4 separate regions of the Homo sapiens genome follow, and regions 2, 3 and 4 are each linked to region 1. The links are contacts of gene promoters, found by promoter capture Hi-C in blood cells and fetal thymus (Javierre and others, 2016). All regions are on one chromosome and are shown on one strand. Each heading gives the region's core, a stretch centred on a gene start or on the middle of the fragment in contact. The rest is flanking DNA. Distances are from core to core; before and after follow the strand shown. Region 1 holds the start of RBBP5 (RB binding protein 5, histone lysine methyltransferase complex subunit). Region 2 has its middle 4.8 kb from the start of ELK4. Region 3 holds the start of RAB29 (RAB29, member RAS oncogene family). Region 4 holds the start of NUCKS1 (nuclear casein kinase and cyclin dependent kinase substrate 1).

What was found. Contacts are between HindIII fragments. The CHiCAGO score rates a contact against its expected background, and 5 or more counts as called.
Region 2: a contact is called between a fragment that was not itself captured here and the fragment with the promoter of RBBP5 in region 1, in 1 of 17 cell types (total B cells). The highest score is 5.1, in total B cells.
Region 3: a contact is called between the fragment with the promoter of RAB29 here and the fragment with the promoter of RBBP5 in region 1, in 5 of 17 cell types (non-activated CD4 T cells, naive CD4 T cells, neutrophils and 2 more). The highest score is 7.9, in non-activated CD4 T cells.
Region 4: the fragment with the promoter of NUCKS1 here is called in contact with the fragment with the promoter of RBBP5 in region 1 in 3 of 17 cell types (activated CD4 T cells, naive CD4 T cells and total CD8 T cells); the score reaches 6.1 in activated CD4 T cells.

The regions. Positions count from the first base shown.
Region 1 is chr1:205,120,686-205,126,161 of GRCh38, reverse strand. RBBP5 (RB binding protein 5, histone lysine methyltransferase complex subunit) reads left to right here and starts at 4,184. Exons shown (of 14, transcript NM_005057.4): 1 at 4,184-4,307. The coding sequence starts at 4,289. RefSeq lists a silencer at 3,207-3,501 and enhancers at 3,863-4,082, 4,223-4,402. The HindIII fragment of the contact is 6,684 bases long and covers 1-4,650 here.
Region 2 is chr1:205,634,337-205,639,296 of GRCh38, reverse strand. No RefSeq gene overlaps it. Among named protein-coding and RNA genes, the nearest start is that of ELK4, 4.8 kb to the right of the region's middle. The HindIII fragment of the contact is 9,419 bases long and covers 1-4,960 here.
Region 3 is chr1:205,772,330-205,777,364 of GRCh38, reverse strand. It overlaps RAB29 (RAB29, member RAS oncogene family), which reads left to right and starts at 1,883. Exons shown (of 6, transcript NM_003929.3): 1 at 1,883-2,092; 2 at 2,279-2,532; 3 at 4,798-4,869. The coding sequence starts at 2,409. RefSeq lists an enhancer at 2,969-3,018. The HindIII fragment of the contact is 8,570 bases long and covers 1-5,035 here.
Region 4 is chr1:205,746,555-205,751,782 of GRCh38, reverse strand. It overlaps NUCKS1 (nuclear casein kinase and cyclin dependent kinase substrate 1), which reads left to right and starts at 1,601. Exons shown (of 7, transcript NM_022731.5): 1 at 1,601-1,826. The coding sequence starts at 1,810. RefSeq lists an enhancer at 1,158-1,407 and a silencer at 1,828-2,427. The HindIII fragment of the contact is 8,985 bases long and covers 1-5,228 here.

The DNA of each region.
Region 1 (5,476 bases), core at 2,935-5,434:
GTACAGTGGCTCACGCCTGTAATCCCAGCACTTTGGGAAGCTGAGGTGGGCAGATCACCTGAGGTCAGGAGTTCGAGACCAGCCTGGCCAACACGGCAAAATCCTGTCTCTACTAAAAATACAAAAATTAGCTGGGCATGGTGGGGCATGCCTGTAATCCCAGCTACTTGGGAGGCTGAGGCAGGAGAATTGCTTGAACTCAAGAGGCGGAGGTTGCAGTGAGTGGGGACTGCACCACTGCACTCCAGCTTGGGTGACAGAGCAAGACTCCGTCACACACACACACACACACACACACACACACACACACACACACACACAAATAAAGAGGGATTCAGGCAGAGGGAACAAAAGTGCTACATTCCTGCAGGAATAAAGTGCTTAGCAAGCTCATATAATAGCAAGGCAGTGCCAATGTGACTGGAAAAGAATGAGTTTCAGGCCGGGTGCGGTGGCTCACGCCTGTAATCCCAGCACTTTGGGAGGCCGAGGAGGGCGGATCACGAGGTCAGGAGATCGAGACCATCCTGGCTAACAAGGTGAAACCCCGTCTCTACTAAAAATACAAAAAATTAGCCAGACGCGATGGCGGGCACCTGTAGTCCCAGCTACTCGCGAGGCTGAGACAGAAGAATGGCGTGAACCCGCGAGGCAGAGCTTGCAGTGAGCCAAGATTGCGCCACTGCACTCCAGCCTGGGTGACAGAGCGAGACTCCGTCTCAAAAAAAAAAAAAAAAAAAAAAGAATGAGTTTCAGTAGAAGAGAGGTAGGTAGCAGGGGGGCCAATTAGCTGCTTATTGCTGATTTCATTATATGAATATATCAGGATATAGCCATTCTACAGTTTTTGATGTTTGGGCTATTTGTGATTTTTTTTTGCTATTATGAACAATGGTACTATGTCCATTGTACATGTTTCCTGGTGCACTTGTGCAAGAGTTTTTCTACAATATATACCTACAGGTAGAATTTCCTGGTCATAGTGTATAAAAATGTAAACAAGGTCATTTTTACTACATAACAAGAAATTGTTTTCCGACGTGGTTGTACTGATTCACATTCTCTTGAGAGAATTCTCTTACAAGAATTTTGGGTGCTCTTCTTTTAGTTTGTCAACTTTGTCGTTGTAAATATCTAATTGTGACTTAATTTGCATTTTACTGATTACTGATGAGATCTGGCGTTGTCAAATAGATCACTTCCCTTTTTTTGAAGTGCCATGGCTTGCTCTCTAATTTTTACAGGTTATTTAAACTTTCTTTTTTTTTTAAAAGAAAAAGGCCAGGCATGGTGACTCACCACCTGTAATGGCAGCACTTTGCGGGGCCGATGTGGGCAGACAGCTTGAGCCCAGGAGTTCGAGTCCAGCCTGGGCAACATGGTGAATCCCTGTCTACAAAAACTACAACAATTAGCTGGGCATGTTGGTGCCTGCCTATAGTCCCTGCTACTTGGGGGGACTGAGGTGGGAAAATCACTTGAGCCTGGAGGTTGAGCTGCAGTGAGCTGTGATCATGCCACTGCACTCCAGCCTGGACGACAGAGTGAGACTCTGTCTCAAAAAAAAAAAAAAAAAAGAAAAGAAAGAAAGAAAAGAAAAAAAAAGAAAGTCCAAATAGGATTGGAGGGGTAGAAAGGGAAAAAGAGGTGTGAGGAAAAAGGTGTACTGAAAATCCCTCAGTGGGCCGGGTGCTGAGTTGAGATTGCGCCACTGCACTCCAGCCCAGGCGACAAGAGCAAGACTCCCTCTCAAAAAAAAAAAAAAGAAAAGAAAAGAAAATTCCTCAGGGGTTTTCTAACACTATTTTTATTTTCATTTTATTTATTTATTTATTTTGAGATGAAGTCTTGCTGTTGCCCAGGCTGGAGTGCAATGGCATGATCTTGGCTCACTGCAAACTCCACCTCCTGGGTTCAAGCGATTCTCCTGCCTCAGCCTCCCTAGTAGCTGGGATTACAGACATGCGCCACCACACCTGGCTATTTTTTGTATTTTTGGTATAGACGGGGTGTCACCATGTTGGCCAGGCTGGTCTCGAACTCCTGACCTCGTGATACGCCTGGCCTCTGCCTCCCAAAGTGCTGGGATTACAGGTGTGAGCCACTGCACCTGGCCTCACTATTTTTATTTTTAACAGCTTTAATTTTAACTTCATTAGCTATATTAGCATCCAATCTGTAAAAATTATTACATTGGAATCAGGCGTGGTAGCTCACAGCTGTAATCTGTAATCCCTGCATTTGGGAGGCTGAGGCAGGAGGATTACTTGTGCCCAGGAATTTAAGGTTACAGTAGTGAGCTATGGTTTCGTCATTGCATTCCAGCCTGGGCAACAGAGTGAGACCATATCTCTAAATACATATATATATGATTACTTTGGATTTGAGAGTAGAGTCAGAGAATTTAGAGGAAACTAGGCTGTGGTTTTCACACGATATTTTTCCTTGTTGCTTTTGCCTTTATGCAAAGTTTTCCTTTGTCTTTGGAGAGTAGAAAAACTGTGGATTTTTTTTTTTTTGAGACAGAGTCTCACTCTGTTGTCCAGGCTGGAGTGCAATGGTGCGATCTTGGCTCACTGAAACCTCTGCCTCCCGGGTTCAAGCGATTCTCCTGCCTCAGCCTCCCGAGTAGCTGGGATAACAGGCATGAGCCACCACGCCCAACTAATTTTGTATTTTTAGTAGAGACAGTGTTTCTCCATATTGATCAGGCTGGTCTCGAACTCCCGACCTCAGGTGATCAGCCCGCCTCGGCCTCCCAAAGTGCTGGGATTACAGGCGTGAGCCACCGCACCCGGCTGCAAAAGACATACTTTATAAAGGTCCAAGGATAATGGAAATAGAAGACATTAATGTAATATGTTCTTGGGAACTAATTGGATACACCAAGTATTATCTTTGACTAGTTTCTGGACTTCTGCTTCATTCTGCAACCTGCAGCCAACTACCATGGTGTCCATCTATTATTAGGCGCTTTAAATAGCTCCTTAATTCACATTTACTCTCTTCAATCGATGTGTCAGACTGTGGGGGCCACTTAATTCCCATTCCAAATTCTTGGGAAAGGAATTTAATTGGGTTGAGCTTAGGTCAGGGGCTTACTGAAAGAGCAATCAACTGGGGCCCAGGGACAGGGTGCACTGTGTGAATGAGGCTGCTTTTTCTGCAAATTTGTCAAGTAGAGGCAGACTGGACTAGCTACATAATTTGCAGGGCCCTGGGCAACATGAAAATGCTGGGCTCCCTAGTTCAAAAGTTTCATTATTGTTTCCAAAAGTTTGCAATTGCAGACAATACTGCGATTAATAAACTTGTGTATGTGTATTTTTCCATTGTCGGAGACCTAGCCCGAGTACTATTTTCTGCAGCGAGCCTTTGACGTTGTTTCCTTTTTCTGATGAGCCACAGCATTTATAGTAGGAATTTGTTCATATAAAATTTGCTCTTTCGCTAGATACCAGTAACTGGACTTCTCTAATTGCTTTGGGTATTTCATTGGAGTTCTGTATGACTGAGCTCCGGGAAACTCAGTCCACCCCTCATTCCAATTCTTTTTCACAGTCTTTTTCACAGCGTCCCTGTCAACACTGTTTGGTAAAGGGTAAAACCTTAGATAATAAGGTTTTTATTATCTTAACACAGACAGGCCTAACATATGTTGTCGTACCTTTCTGTAGGATCAATAGCATATCTTTACAAATGAGAAATAATTTTCACGAGACCGAAACACCCTGCAACGCCACCTACATACAGGGTAAGTACGCGCCTTGGTGAGGTCAGCGGCGCTACACACCCGAGCACTAGGGGACGACCTTCCCTGGTTTCTTGCATTAGCAGGACTTGTCCGGAACCTTTCCTGCGGAGTCTGAGGTAGCCCGCCCGGACAACGCCGCTGAACACACAACAGGGCAAGAACTAGTAGGTTAACTGTATGCCTGGAATTTCTACCTCACCTACATGTTCCCGGAGCAAATAATCTTAAATTGTCGCGCTATTTAAAGTCCCTAGTGACGATAACATTGTTGTACCTCAGCAAAGATCATAATTAATTGTTTCCGAGAGAGTGTATGCTTGATTTTGGTCAGGCATATATTTGGGCAGCCCACCTGAAACGAACAAGGAAGGCGGGGGAAGAAAGCGGAAGCCGCGGGGCCTTCTAAGGCCGAAAGTCTTCGGAGCTTGCGCCAGTCTCTTCGCGGCGTCCACCACTTAGACGCAAGTTGCTGAAGCCGGCCGGGGAGAAGGTGTTGTTGCCGGAGCTGAGACCGGGCGGCCACAGTCCGCAGGGATGAACCTCGAGTTGCTGGGTGAGAAGGGCTGTGGCTGCGTTTTAGAGAAGCGTTGGGTACTGGAAAGGAGGGAACCCAGGCGGGAGGGGAGTCAGGCTGCAATCTTAGGGACACTGTTCGGCTATGGATCACTGGGCACACCTGATGTGGAGCAGCAGCGGGAGGAGGAAGCCCACCTTCTGCCCGAGTAGGTTGCATTGCCCCTCCCGAGGCCACTTTCATATCAATTATGGAGCGATGGGGACAGACAGTTTGTGACTTAGCTTTGATTATGAGGATCGCAGGTGTTGAAGTACCCAGAGCAGCCAGGACCAGAGTTGTTGGAGATGGAATTTGAAGAAGTGAGGCTTGGGATGAAGCTTTGAAGACTTGTCAGGGAATTGGGTGCCTGAACAGGTTAATCTTTTTGTAGAAAAGAGAAGTCTAAGGAGGGGACTTGGAGATCTTCTGGTAGAAGCTTCTCATTGAACAGATGAATAAAGGCTCAGAGGGTAATGGCTAGGCACTAAGCAAGTAAATGGCATAGTTGGCACTGGAATCCAATTATCCTAACTTTCTGTTTAAGGTCCTTTGCTAGGGACGGTGTGTAAAACACTGAGGTGTGAAATACGGAGGGAGTTGTCTTTTGTCGCCCTCACTTTGAGTCATTGCCTCCTTACCTCCTATCCAGATTATTTAAAAACTGTAGGTCCTTTCTCCTGGACTTCCATTAGGTGACATTTAGCATGGTATTCTAGGGGTAGCTGAGGTTTTCAAGGACTTCTGCACTACTTGCTGTTCCTAATGGTTAGGTTTCTCTTTTAAAAAAGTCAGAAGATATGTTAATTGTCAAAAGGGCTACAAAGATACATAAAAAATGGTCTTTGCCCTTAAAGAGCTTTTCATTAAGCAGGGAGTTTAAGGTGATTATGTAAAATAGCTGTAGGATATTGCAGAATGTAGGCAGGCCTGAAAGAGTCATTACCAGTTGCTAAGAATGTTTGGAACAGAGAGTGAATGTCTTTGGGGTAAAGGAAGAAGTCAACCAGGAAAAACAAACCCCCCAAACCTGTGGAGGAGTTGGAGTTTTAAGTGGACTTTTTTTTTTTTTTTTAAGACAGCCTCGCGCCGTCGCCTAGGCTGGAGTGCAGTGGCACAGTCTTGGCTCACTGCAACCTCTGTCTCCTGGGTTCGAGTGATTCTCGTGC
Region 2 (4,960 bases), core at 817-3,316, 520 kb before region 1:
AGGCATGAGGAACAGATTAATGTGAGATATTCTAGAGGTACATGCATCAGGCCATGGTGACCAATTGTCTGTGGAGGGTGAGGCAGAAGGAATTGTTGAGGATGACTGAGGTGTCTGGGTAACGCTTTCAACTGAAACTGGGAAAGGGGATCAACTGAAACTGGGAAAGGGTTTGGTGTGGCAGGTATAAGTAATGAGTTCAAGTTGTATATTCTGAGATGGAAGTGTCATGAGGACATTCAGGTGGAGAAATCCTGTAGGACACTGGAAACGGATCCAGAGTTCACAGAAGACAGGATAAAGGTTAGGGCTCATTAGCATCTGGGTGATGAACGAAGGCTTGGAGAGAATGGGGTCCCTTATGGGGAGTGTGTTGAAGGACAACAGGCCGAAGATAGAAACCTGAAGCAAGGACAGAACTTTCTTTCAGAGCTGGTAGAAGAGAAGTCCCAAAAGAGAGACAAAAACTGGTTAGGGAGATAGAAGAATCACAGAGGCCAAGAGAAGAGAGTGTTTCCGAGAGGGTGCCAGGAAGGGACAGCTAAGTCTGCTCTGGAGGTCAGGGATGTGTACCTAAGGAGGCAACATCTAAACTGGTCTTGAGGAACAGCCGAAGATGGCGAACGGGACAGTTCCTGAAAAGGGAATGTGAGATTTGGCAATCAGGATAGCTGTAGCCTTTACTACGGAAAAGTCAGTGGTGGAGACAGCAGACAGATTCAGCGGGCTGAAGAGTAAGCAGAAGGTGAGGATGGGTAGGCAGGAGATAGAAACCATTATTTTTTGAAGTTTGATACTAAAGAGAAGGAAAGGCTAATACTTGAAGGGGGAAGTTTTCTAAATGGGTGGGACTTGAGCATGTTTACTAGCAGAAGGAGAGGGAGGTGAGAGGCCGAACGTAAGAGAGGCAGTAGTGGGTGAAGCAAAGGCCGTGGAGAGGCAGACGAAACGGACTCCAGCGCAAGCCACGCTGCAAATCTCTATGCCAGGCAGTTTGTGCCTCTGAGCTCTGCCATGCCATTCCCTTTTCCTGGATGATCTCTTCAATAAACCTTTACTGAGCCACTCCTGGGGCAGGGATTATTCTGCAACTGTGCTGCAAAGGTAAACAACCTGGGCTCTCTTCTCCAGAACTCATTTCCAACACTTGAAGAGACAAGTAAGAAACTTCAAGTCAGTGTGGAGAGTGCTGCAAGGACCAGTACTGGACATGATGGGAGACACTGGAAAGTCCCAAACCTAGTTTAGGGTGTTAGGGGACTTCCTGGAATCGGGGACATCTAAGCTGAGCCCTAAAGTAGGAGACAGTCAGATGGGAGAGAGTAAAGAAGAAGACATTTCAGGCCAAATGCCTGAATACCATACCCTGGAGTGGTCAGGTTGGTTCTCTGGTGGGAACACGAAGATTCTCCTGATCTTCTCCTCCCTACTCTCAACACTCTCAACATTCGTAGTTTTTACCTCCACTAAATACTCTTTCCTATATTATAGTGATGTTACCCCTTTATCTACTGGAAACTTCTGAAGAGAAGAGACTGGTCTTATTTTTGAATCTCCTAAAGTATCCAGCACAGAGCTCAGCACACGGTTAATGCTTTAAAAATATTTTTTGATAAGAAATCTCAGGCCTAAGAATCCCTATCATGGCTAATAAATTCTCAGAGGGCCATTGGTAGGATTAAGATATAGAGATTAAAAAGGGAAAGAAAAAAGTATGCATAGGAAGAAAAAAGGGTCAGGGAACAAGAGAGAGACAGAGAGAGAGCTGGGAAAGAGGGTGGGGAAGAAGCAAAGAGACAGATAAAGTGTACACACAGTGGGGAGGGATCCACTTACAAACCAAATCTAGCCAGAATTCTTTGCTCCATGAAACCTTGTCTTTGGATATTTTCCATCATGGGGAGAACTCCTTATTCTCCCTCTGCTTTAGGGGTCTCCCACTGGAATCTGATTCATAGATAAATTTGGTAAGTTGCAGGCATCACAACTCCATCTTCTGAGAAGCAGGGAGAAGCTGAGAGAGGGAAAGAAGGGGAAAAAAAGCCTACAAAACCAGCAAGTTTCCCACTTTACAGAGTGAGCCTAGACAGAACTTGAATTTTCTTCCCTTGAGAGTTAGGAGGAAAGCTGGTAGCTGTGTCACACTCCTGAGTTGTGTACACGACTCACAAGCCAAATTTTCTAGCACAGCAGAACAATTTTGTTTTGCTGCTGGATATATAAAGCAAGGAAAAAAAAAAGATGGCATTCCATCTTTTTGAATTAGCACCAAGTCTTTCAAACTCCACCCTTTCCAGGAAATGTTCTTTAATGCAGTGGGAGGTGGTAATTTTACTCTCTCCAAACCCTCATTTTACTTCCCTCACAACACAAAACCCTGCTCAGAGCTGCACTTATATCTTCGTTTGTCAGCCTGACTGCCTCTCCCATCATTTCTGAATCCTTAGCTGAATTCTTTGTTCATGTCAACGGGATAGCAAAAGAATTCTGAAAATGCTGGAAGTCGTGGACAGCAATGATGGTCGCTGAGGGTGTCAGTGTTGCCAATTCAAGACTCAGAATTCCTAGAAGAGCAAATGCTCTTTGAGTTTCTTCTGTAATAACAGCATAGTATCATATATTGGTGCTTCCTTAATTAACTTTAATTGAAGAAGTTTTTTTTCCAGACAGTGATTATAAAATACACCAGAGAGGAAAAATTATTTTGGCTTAAAATTCAGAGCAATATGTATTCTGCAAGGAGCTGGTCCAAACACCAGAATCTTAAACAATTATACAAAAGGCAGATTTCATGAGCTTTTATCAATTAAGGAACACCTTTTCCAAAGGTGGCTCACGCCTGTAATCCCAACACTTTGGGAGGTCAAGGTGGGCAGATCACCTGAGGTCAGGAGTTTGAGACCAGCCTGGCCAACATGGCGAAACCCCGTCTCTACTAAATACACAAAGATTAGCAAGGCATGGTGGCACACGCCTGTAATCCCAGCTACTCAGGTGCCTGAGGCAGGAGAATCGCTTGAACCCGGCAGGCAGAGGTTGCAGTAAGTCGAGATCCCATCACTGCACTCCAGCCTGGGTGACAGAGTGAGATTTTGTCTCAAAAAAAAATTGATATATTCTCTCTTCTTTCTCTATTACATATTCCATATCAATTTTTATAAGTCTAGAAATAATACATTTATCAAAGACCAATAAAATTACTTGAGGTTAAAAATATTAAAAGAAAATAAGTAGACTGGGTGTAGAGATCAAGAATGAAAATTATATGAAGCTATTTTCTGACCTGTGTTTGTGACAGGTCATCAAACATATTAGACAGTTGCTATGCCTCAGGCGGTAATTGCAATAACTCATGTCTCGTCATGTCCTCTCTGAAAAAACAATGTATTGTGTGGAGATTACAGCTAGTCCTGAAAGATGTTGCCATGAGTTTACTTCACAGTCTAGAGGCCACAAGTACCTTGTTCAATGACCTTCAGATTGGGTTTTCTCCGGACCCTTAATACCCTCTGATTAAAAGCCTTATTATTGGGGATGAAACGTTTACTGGTTATATTTGGTAAAGTTTAGGACCTTAACAGGTAGTAGGGGTTGCCAGTGCTGCCAGATTCAATATACAGCTAGCCAGAGTTTTCTTTTCAAAGATAACTTTACCTCTATCTAAGATCTCAGTCCACACAAATATAACAGCAATAGGGCTATTTACCAAGAGTTCAAAGCATCATTTGATCAACCGCTTTTTTTTTTTTTTTTTTTTTGAGACGCAGTTTCGCTCCTGTCACCCAGGCTGGAGTGCAGTGGCACGGTATCAGCTCACTGAAACCCTCACCTCCCGGGTTCAAGCCATTCTCCTGCCTCAGCCTCCTGAGTAGCTGGGATTACAGGTGCCTGCCACCACACCTGGCTAATTTTTTTGGTATTTTAACAGAGATGGGGTTTCACCATGTTGGCCAGGCTGGTCTTGAACTCCTGACCTCAGGTGATCTACCTGCCTCAGCCCCCCAAAGTGCTGGGATTACAGGTGTGAGCCACCACAACCAGCCTACTGCCTTTTTCTTTTAGTCTATCCATTACAGACATGAAGTGAAAGGTATGTCTCTTTTATTTCTAAAGATGTTGAAAGTGAAACCCAGAAAGGGTAAGTCGCAAGGATTTTCTCAGGAGGTTCAAGTTTTGAGTTTAGGGAGACCCAAAGGCTAGAACCCAGATATCCCAGATTTTTATTCTTTCTTCTCAGTCATGTTGCAATTTGCTCCACACTTGTCCCCACCTGGGGTTGTGGGTGCTGTCTTTGACTTAAAAGATATCTCTTCTTAATGTCACGTGCTACAGGATATTGCTTGAAAGACGTAACAGGCAACTGGATGGCTCCATGCTTGCTTAGTCAGTCAAAAATCCGTGAAACACTTCTTTAGGAAAAAGGGATAGTGACTGGGAGTAATGATGAAGCAGTGAAATAAAGAGAGGGAAGAGGAAGTTGCCTTGAGAAGTAATGATCATAACTAGGTGTTATTGGGATAGGAAATGTAATTAAATTAGGGGCAAGGGGTTGCAGAGCTGAGTTAACTGCAGTGATTAAGAAAAAAAATCTAGGCCAGGCCCGGTGGCTCACATCTGTAATCCCAACACTTTGGGAGGCCAAGGCAGGCGGATCACGAGGTTAGGAGTTTGAGACCAGCCTGGCCAACACGGTGAAACCCCGTCTCTACTAAAAATACCAAAATTAGCTGGGCGTGGTGGTGCACACTTATAGTCCCAGCTACTCAGGAGGCTGAGGCAGAAGAATCGCTTGAACCCGGGAAGCGGAGGTTGCAGTGAGCCGAGATTGTGCCACTGTAACTCTAGCATGGGTGACTGTGTGAGATTCTGTCTCAAAAAAAAAAACAAAAAACAAAAAACAAAAAACAAAATCTAGGGCAGGCCAGGTAGAAAATACATATTTAAACATTTTAAGCCAGGC
Region 3 (5,035 bases), core at 634-3,133, 650 kb before region 1:
CCTGACTCCTGCGAGAAGTAGCTCACCGTGACAAAGCTGCCTTTGCATTTATCAATTTGCAAATCAGAGAAGAGGGACATGTTGAGAGCAGGCCCCCCAAAATCTGGCCATAAACTGGCCCCAAAACTGGCCATAAACAAAATCTCTGCAGCACTGTAACATGTTCATAATGGCCCTAACGTCCACGCTGGAAGGTTGTAAGTTTACAGGAACGAGGGCAAGGAACACCTGGCCCGCCCAGGGTGGAAAACCGCTTAAAGGCATTCTTAAGCCACAAACAATAGCATGAGTGATCTGTGCCTTAAGGACATGCTCCTGCTGCAGTTAACTAGCCCAACCTATTCCTTTAATTCGGCCCATCCCTTCGTTTCCCATAAGGGATACTTTTAGTTAATTTAATATCTATAGAAACAATGCTAATGACTGGTTTGCTGTTAATAAATACGTGGGTAAATCTCTGTTCGGGGCTCTCAGCTCTAAAAGCTCTAAAGGAAATCAGACCCCTGATTTCCCACTTCACACCTCTATATTTCTGTGTGTGTGTCTTTAATTCCTCTAGCGCCACTGGGTTAGGGTCTCCCCAACAGAGCTGGTCTTGACAGAATATCACTGATCAGAGATAAAGAACAAATAAAGTGAAGATAGATCTTTGACACCAAGGACAATTCACTAAAGAGTTTATCGAATGATTGACTCAGAGACCAAGAATCAGGCCTTAGGAAATACTTAGCGGGAAATGGGATGGAGAGAAACCTGAAAGAAAAAGATAATCATCAGAGAAGTACGGGGATGACAAAGAAAGAACAGCGTCATAGAAGGCATAAGGGAAACAAATGTCAAGGAGTGGTCAACTATGTCAAAACGAATAAGAACAGAGAAAACTGGATCCTTAAAGATGAGTAGCTTGAACTAACCTCCTGTACCTGGGTAACGAACATTCTGGGCAAAATATATTGTGAACCATGCTGATGTTCTTTCGCCACAAAACATAAGTGATAGCCTCTCTATCAAGAGACCTAGATTTCCTAGTGTCTGGTCCTGGGCTGTTTTCCCATGGCCCCGCTGGTTCTCTTCCTCTATTCCTAGAAAAGTATAGAAAATGGAGCTCTCTTTGCTTGCCATTGAGCTCATGTCCTGCCAACTTCTACCCAAGTGACAGGTAGGTCAGTAAAGTTACAGGCTGAGAAATTAAAATTATTTGCCAAACACTAGTTTTATGATTATCTATTAACAACAGCCACAACAAATCAAGAAGGAGTCCCAGTGTATTTCAATTAGCTTCTAGCTCAAGTGATACATGAGTAGTATGGCTAGAATAGGCATTGTAGAAGTATGAATGGAGAACTGTCTCTTGTTTTCTGTCCATCTTTATTGTTATTGCTGGATATTAAATGCTGTAATTTTTGGCATAGGTTTTTTTCCAAAGACTGGTCTCTTGGGTCAAGTTTTCCTGAACTTGCCTGGTATTGGGCAAGTTCACACAGAAAATATGAGTCATTTCACAAAGTCCTGGGCTTGTCTATCTACTTGAAGGAATAGGAAATGGACTTCACTTGGAGCATGATGGATGAGGCTTGGGCTTTTACTAATGAAATAAGTTTCAATCTTAACTCAGTTAAACCTTTAAAGACAGGAGAAAACTATCTGGGGATGGATTCAGGCCAGTGAGATCACGTTGCACAAATCTCCCCTTAAGGGATCTTTACTGACCTAGAATTGTTTCAAAATAAGATTCCAAACTGTCGAGGGAGTTTGAAGCCTTGAAACTTGGTGTAGGTTTGCTTAAAACAAAATAACGAATATACTACATTTCCCAGGAGGCTTCGCGGTGAGCCTCCGCACTCGGCTGGTTCTCTTTACCGCGAGGAAAGCTGGGAAATGTAGTGCCACAGGCAACCCTGCACGTGACGCTTGCGGAGGAAGGGGAGAGAGAGGCGCGCGGGAGGGCGTCTAGGGAATCGAGGTGCCGGCTGCTCCTTCCTCACAATTTGGTTTGTGCTGCAAGGGGAGGGTCCCCATCATCTGGCCCCAGTGGTGTAAGGAGCTGACTGGGATTCAGTCACTGACTTGGAGCCGCTCGGGGGAAGTCCCGGTGGGTGAGGTTCCGCGGCGCCTGGTCCAGTTTCTCGGCAGTCAGGCCAGGAGGGGGTGGGGAAGGTGCGAACAGCCGGGGGCTCGGAGCTCGCGCCCTGCGCCCCACCCAGGTTGCGGCCGCCCGGGGAGGAAGCGCGTATAGGTTGAGTGCAAAGTTTCCTTTTTTGCTTTCTCGTCAGAGCAGCCCAGACAGGCGGTGGGTGGGAATGCCTCACTTCAGTTTGAAGAGGGTCCGGATCCAAAGGGGTTAAAACGAGCGACCCCCGATCCCCGACCACACTTCCCGCCTCCCTAAAACGCACACCCCGCTAGCCATGGGCAGCCGCGACCACCTGTTCAAAGTGCTGGTGGTGGGGGACGCCGCAGTGGGCAAGACGTCGCTGGTGCAGCGATATTCCCAGGACAGCTTCAGCAAACACTACAAGTCCACGGTGGGAGGTGAGACGTCTCGGGGGTGGGGAGGGGGAGGGGGAGGAGGAGGCCCCGACCGCGGACTCGAGCTGGGGACCCAAGTGGGGTGGGGATTTGCTGTCGGTTGTTGGGTCCTTCTTCGGGTCAGGAAGTACTGTCTGGGAACCTAGATGGTGTAATTGCCGGGTGTTTGGTTTACACGCCTCTCTTGAGTTTCCCGTTAGATTTTCCCAAACTGAGCCCACTGCCAGGAGAAAGGTAAGAGCAAAGGCGTGAAGATGAGAAATAGGGAAGGGAGGATGAGGATGAGCAATTGCTGTTTATTGCAGGCGTACTGTGAACTTAAGTCTCCAGCCTTTCAGCTGTCCGGCAAATCTCTCCAATCAGCAGAAGCAGCTGAGATCCTCTGTGGGGCCTCCTGGTTAGGTGCCGGCTGGGGCTGTAGTCCTGCCCCTCTGTTGAGGGAGGAACCGCAAGGTGTTTAACCTGGCTTCAGTGGGAGAACGCAGGAAGCGGAACTGGTCTGAAGGACTGTAGCTTTGTTGTGGGGCTGTGGGTGGGATGGAAGACACAAAATCCCCGAACGAGCCCCTTGGCTACGCAGTCAGATGCCCATGAGGGCTGATGAGCTGTGTTTTTGTCCGTTGATTGCTTAAATAAAGGTAACCAAGGAATTCTTCCAAGAATGTGAAATATACCACTTCTCTGACCTATCTTCCCACCACTTTTTTCCTCAAACTGGAGAAGGTAGGGAGGAAGGGGACACCGAGTTCATTCATTTCTTTCCCGGGTGTGGCCTTTGGACTCAACTATTTTTTCAGAGGCAGAAATGCCTTATTGTTAATTAGAAGGTATTTAGCTAGGAAGAGCTGGTGATGGGGGAGAGTAACTTAAAATTTTATTTCTCTCTGTTAAAAGAACTTGTTTCAAGGGGGGAAAACTCGTACCAATGGAAAAATTGAAAATGTGTGCTCCTGTTCATATGGAAGTTTAAAAAGAAATTAACAAACATTTACATTGCAATTAAAACATTCTCCTTAAGAACCCCCAGTAGGGCCCAGTACCGTGGTTCATACTTGCAATCCCAGCACTTTAGGAGGCTGAGGCGGGAGGATTGCTTGAGCCCAGGAGTTCGAGACCAGCCATGGGAAACATGGCAAGACCCCCACCTCTACAAAAATTAAAGAAGAAAGTAGCCGTGGTCCCAGCTACTCGGGAAACTGAGACGAGAGGATTGCTTGAACTGGGGAGGTCGAGGCTTCAGTGAGCCCCGTTCGCACCACTCACTGCACTGTAGCCTGGGCAACAGAGTGAGACCCTGTCTCAAAAACAAAGGAACAAAAAATTTAAGTCTGGCAAAATTAAAGGTTCAAAGTTTCAGACACTCTATCCTGACCGCTCTGCCCTCCCACTCCTAAATAATATAAGGGTCCCTATTTCACGGATTTGGGTTAAAAGTGGCCTGCTATTAATAGTTAATTTTTAACAATTGCTGTAGTTTTCCTTTAGCAAAGAATATAATTGGCTAATTTTTTTTTCAGTGTTTAGTCTAAATTTCCCTTAGCTTTGATTCCTGTCACAGATGTGAAAGATAATATTTCCAAACCTCAGAAATTACTCTGTTTCTCTCCTTAGCCAAAAGGCTTTCCCCATGGAATACTTACTCAGCCTTAAGGAGTCTCAGCACCTGCAGACTTGGTGGTAGATTCCAGCAGGACTCTTCAGCAACATCCACACAGTGTCTTCTTCTTGGGACTCCTCTGGGACCTTTTCCATTTATTCCATTCTTGCCCAAGATAATACCTGCAACCTTATGGTGGATGTAGAGTTCCCCAGGGTGTGTTCTTTTCATAATACAATTTGATTAGAAACCAACAGTGAAATTGAATGTGGAAGATACGAAAGCAACCACACTTGTCTCATTTCCCCCTTCTCCCCCATCACCCCTTCCCTGAGAAAACCCCCTAAATCTCCCAGAAACTATTTAACCTGAGAATGAGAATTGTTTTCATAGTTACTCCCACCCCCAGTCTTGGAGACAAACAGTAGCAAATAAATGAGCTTGACAGTAGAGTAAAAGCTGGAAACCCCTTTGGAGAGTGAGTATGAATCATCCATCTCACACTAAATACACGCATGTGGACTCATCTCAGTGAATTGAGGGCTTAAAGTTAAACATATGGGATTGGAGTTGTGTGTCCATAGGGTTTCACTGCCTATTTGATTTGAGTTTATCCCTATTAATTTTTTACAGTGAAATTTTATTAAAGTATAATGTACATATATTTTCAGTGGATTTTGCTCTGAAGGTTCTCCAGTGGTCTGACTACGAGATAGTGCGGCTTCAGCTGTGGGATATTGCAGGTAAAGTGGGAGGGCTAGATAGGAACAAGGGAAGAAATTTTGATTTAACTAGAAAGCTCTGAGGAAAAAATGGGGCAGCAAAGCCAGAAATTGTTTTTCTGAAGCTGGAATGATTGAGCTGCTCTGAGGACACATGAGCTGAATAGGTGCAGAGCTTTTGTAGATG
Region 4 (5,228 bases), core at 352-2,851, 630 kb before region 1:
AGACTCCGTCTCGAAAAAATAAAAATTAAAAATAAAAATAAGAGGGACAGAGGGTGGAATGACATGGAAGAGACAAAAGATATTAATTTGTTTAATGCTTCACTGGTGGACTGTGCTATTCTCTTCTTTTTGGGAAGCCAGATTTTACAAAGGGAGACTTTCAGGAGGCAGATGTGGTGTGTTTTTTGTTGTTGTTGTTTGGAAAGTGTATCTTCAATTGGTTGTTAACTGACTGCTCATTGGAGACTTCTGCCAGATGCGCCCAGATCATTAGTCCGTTTGAATCATCACGTCTTCCAGGCCCCACCCTACTCTCTGATAGGCCCCACCTTCACCGTGGGGTCCTGTTAGTCAAGATGCTCTGAGAGCGCACAGCCACCAAACAAAAATGATCGCTTTGACTGTGACAGGGATTGACGTCTATTTTCGATAGCAGACTCAGCCTTAGCCATTCACATAGGAATCCTGAGCTCTGCCTTTGAGAGTATTAGGCATCCAACAAATGCTCACGGATTTAAGTGAAATGATGTGCGTTACTTTCAGTTATATGACTTCGAAGAGTCTTTGTTTTGTTTTTCAAAGTGCAAGGGTAAATCAATAGAATTCATAGGGTCTTGAGCCAGCTCCACCCATCTCTACCCAGGGACGGAATCATCTTTTAAAACTTGGATTTAACACTTACGTAGCACTTACTGTGAGCCAGAGACTATCCTAAAGACTTTTGATAGATATATCAACTCATTTAATACTAATAAGCCTATGCAGTTAGGTACCCTTGTTTCCCATTTTACAGATGAGAAAACTGAGGCACAGAGAAGGAAAGTTATACCACCATTAAGTAGTGGACCTGGGATTCCACCTGAAATACCTTGTGGCCCCTGAGCTCATGCTCTTAGTTATTGTACACCTGACTCTTTTCTTAAAATAGTAATGCACCAGACTGGGACTTTAATGACCCTGAAGTGGATCTCAAGGTCCAGAATGGAGAATGGTAATTGGGGGTGAAGATATTCCTTGATTATGATCCTGCCTCTCTACTCCAGCAGCCTCATTTGGTCCCTGAGGGTTAATGCCGAAGCCAGGGTAAGGGGCTTGTAGGTTTAAGGTCAAATTTTTTGAACCTAAGGAATTTCCCTCCAATTCTGTAGCAGCCCCGCAGTGACGAATCTGCTGCCTCTCCCACGGGTTTTGCTATTAGAGGATTTTCAAGGTGATCAAGGCAGACGAGATGAAACACCATTAAACTAACACTGAGCAACGCTGAACCCTACATAAATCTTTTTTTCTAGTCTTTCTAAGATACGACCCCAGACGAATCTGCAACTCTGGAGTGGAAACCAGGGGGCGGGCTAAGCAGCGACCATTTTTGTTTTGCGGCCGTGCGCTCTCAGAGCATCTTGACTAACAGGACCCCCACGGTGAAGGTGGAGCCTATCAGAGAGCAGGGCGGGGCCTGGAAGACGTGATGATTCAAACGGACTAATGATCTGGGCGCATCTGGCAGAAGTCTCCAATGAGCAGGCGTGTTGGGGAGGAGCGCACAAACCCTAGTGGGTTTGGTTGCACGGCGGCTTTGGCGCATTTTCGGCTGGTTTGATTCATCCATTTTGAAGAGACGGGGGAGCGGGGGGCTCGTCTGTTCCAGGAGCCCTGAACCAAAGAGCAGCGGAGTTTGAGAAGCCAGCAGCTCGGGGTTCGGCAGCAGCGGTCCCATCGGCTGAAGTTCGGGGGGGGTGGGGCGCCGAGCGCGCGGGGTGGGGGGGGTCCTGGTCTTTGGCTTCTCGACTCGGTCCTGTTTCGACAGCGAACATGTCGCGGCCTGTCAGGTCAGTGCGGAGTCTGAGGCCTGGAGCGGGTTGGAGGGGGATGGGGGCGAGTGGTGAAAAGAGTGGGGGACAGAAGGCTAGAGTCCGCCATCCCCGGTGCCGCGCGCGGCCTCCTCCCTTTCGGGGCCCGCGCGCACCCTTGAGCGTGGGGGGCCCTGCTGGCGCGCGGGGGTGGTGGCTGCGCGCCCGTGCGCGCGCCCCTCCCCGCCCCGCGCCGCTGCAGGGCTCCGGTCTGCTCAGCTGCCTCCCCCACCCACCGCACTAGAGCGGGCGGGGTGTCCCTGAGCCGCCAGCGGCCGGAGGGGGAGGGGTGTGAAGTCAGCGCCCCCAAGAGGCCCCACCTCCTCGGGGCCGTCCCCTTGGAGCCAGCGCGGGGAGGCGGGCGGACTCGAGCTCCACTCCCCACCTTCAGCGAGGAGGGGCGGAGGCACCCGTATTGCCCCTTCCCCCAGCGACTGGCGCGGGGGTGGGGGCCCTGAGCCCTCTCTGTAGCGGACGGGGGTGTTCCTGGCAAAGGGGGAGGGGCAGCACTGCCAACCGGCCCCGCCTCTGTCCTTCGGGGTCGCTGCAGGCCCCGCCTCCCGGATCGGGCCGAGCGTGGGCGGGACCCGTTTTTTTCCCCCCGGGCAAAAGTGAGAGTTCGGGACTGGATCCTGGAAAATAATGGGCTGCTGCCTCTCTCCCCACCTCAGAGTTTTGAGAGAGTTAACCCCAAAGTTCGCTCTTTCTCTCCGACTAGAAATGTCCTTCCTCGGGGAAATGTCCGTACTCAGGGAGGTGCGGGTTAACAGCACGGCCCAAATCCCGTGTGGTTCTCGTTCCACTCTCACCCGCGTACGCGTCTCGGGATATTTTTGTAACCCTCTTGTCCCCGAGTGACTTTAGTAATAAAAGGGCTAGGTTCGGGTAACCATCAGACTTCATTCTCGGAATTTCAACAAGTTTGCTATTCCCCCAGCTGTCGGTGGAATCGTCCTATGCCATTCTCCAGGCTATTGTATGGAATGTGCCATTTATGGAGGGGTGTGGTTTAGTCCAATCTGTTGAGGCCTTAAAAAGGAGAGCTGTTGCAAATAAATATTTTTAATGTAAGGAATTGGCTTCTTTGCATAGTGTGTTTTCTAAATAAATAGATAAAGGCTTAGTTTTTAAATGTTTTAACAGTCGTTGCTTCCCCTTCATTCCAAGTTGTGTGGGAAACGGAAGTACCTTTAATTAGAGTTCTAAAGAGAGGTTTGGGACCCTGGCAAGGGTTTTGTTCTACACCGTTCTGTCTCCAGACTAGATCATCCTCCAACTGGTGGTGGTATGAGACTGCGTACTCCTACACACGGGGTGGGAATGAGGAGAAAGCTGCTGTTAGCTCTGTTTCAATCAGCATCTGTGGTAACTCACGATCTCTACTCTGAAAGTTATGCTGGCCTTTTGGCAAGGAGTCTGGATAGCTCTTTCAGAGTATAGTTTGCGTAATTTTTTTGGCATAAAACTTGACCAATGTATCCATCAACTCACGTAGAATATTTTCTTTAGGATCAGGTAAAATAATAAAATAAAGATTTATTTTACCTGGATTGGATCTTTTGTCTTCTGGAAGTAATTACTGTGTGGTCAAATTAGGTCAAATTAGGAAAAATAATTCCTCTACCTTTTAAATTTTAGTTCACTAAGTTTTGATGACTTTATTTTATTGTGGTGACGTTCTTATCTCATCTGCCTGAATTTGTTTTCCCAGATTTAGGTATTGGAACATGAACAGAACATTTTTACTGGAAAACTTGGATTTTTTATGTTACCATGTGGGGATATATATATTAAGCACATTCTATCAGTTTTTTGGAGGCATTGGGACTTCTGCACAACTTTTTTATTACTCAGTATGTTGTTTAAACTAATTTTGACCTTGTTTATTTCCCCTAATTGAAGAGTGAAGTTAATATGTTGTGGGCTGTTTTTTTTTTTCTTTGCCATTTTCAAATTATTAATTTCAGAGCAAGTTGGTTACGGAGTATATTTTAGTCATAAATTCTTTGTAATTATTTTTTAAAAGAAGTCTTTATTCATGACCAATAATAAAGCAGAAATAATTAAACTTGAGTTTGGTGGTTTGTTAAATTTTGCAATAAAAAAGTCCTGACTTAGGGAAATGATGTTGTTTCAAAGTATAATTGAAGAATCTATATTCCCTTAGTGCATTTAACATCAACGAAAAAAGTGATAGACATTGACCTGATTTCAGAATCATCAGCCTTGTTTTAAAAACAAAAAAGCACAAGTTGGAAAATATTGTCACTGTGTCGTCTTTTGGGGTATTTCTGCCCTTAGGCCTGTGTATAATTTTGCAGTTTTTCTGGTTCTCATTGTACCATAAATATCCATTTTTATTTTAATATGAACCTAAACATTTTAAGAGCATTTGGAAATGTACCTATGGCACCTTAGCATCAATTTCCAAATGAAGGGTGGTATGGTGGACCTATTGGCTACTGCATGGTTTTGCAAAGACCTGTGTCTAGCACGTTATGTTTAACTTTGTTCATACAAGATTGCTGTCTTTACCCTTTGCAGTGGCCGACTGTTAAATGAGAGCTCAAATATTTTAGGCCTTGGATTCAAATTAATAGCTTAAAATTAGCCTTGGAGCTAGGAAGAGGTTTAGGCAAACTCACTTTATTAAACCTAGTTTAATGGGGACCTGGATAAGTGAGGTGCCTTGCATCACGAACTAGCAGGTGCAAATGTTGGGCTGAGAACCTAGATTTCCCAATTCCCAATTCCCAATTCTGGTCCCCACCCGCATGATCGCTGTACCTTCTGCCCGATCAATATTAATGTTATTAGTGCTGATTAAAGAACATAGTATGTAACATTTTTAACTTTTTTAAGTGCTTTCATGAGTCAACTTTGTGAGGAAGGAAGGAAAATGCCATTACTTGTAAGAGGTGAGAAAGAAAGCTCAGATTTACTGACTTGCCCAAACTAGAAACCAGATTTCTTGAAATTCAGCTGTTACACTCTCCAGAGATCCTCCTCCCTTATTGAAAGTGATCCAGGTTGCTCAAACCAATCTTTTTGCTTCTCCTTGTAACCTAAGTGTGCTTGATACCTTTTGTTTAACACTTGAGATTGTAAGGAACCTTACCATTGAAAATTTAGATGTGAAAACATAAGCTCTTACAAGTTGTTATAGAATTTATTTTATTGTTTGTCATGTTTATAAGTAGTGTTGAGAATTAACGGCTTTCCCAGGATTCCAGTTTGCTTTCTTTTCAAAGAGAATTGTTTGGGCCATGCCTGGATTCTAAAAATATTCTCTCCCCCAAAACAATTGGTTTCAAGAAGTCCTCAGCTAAAGAGAAAAACTAGAAACTTGAAAATTCAAGGTAGTTCAAAATGTGTTACCAA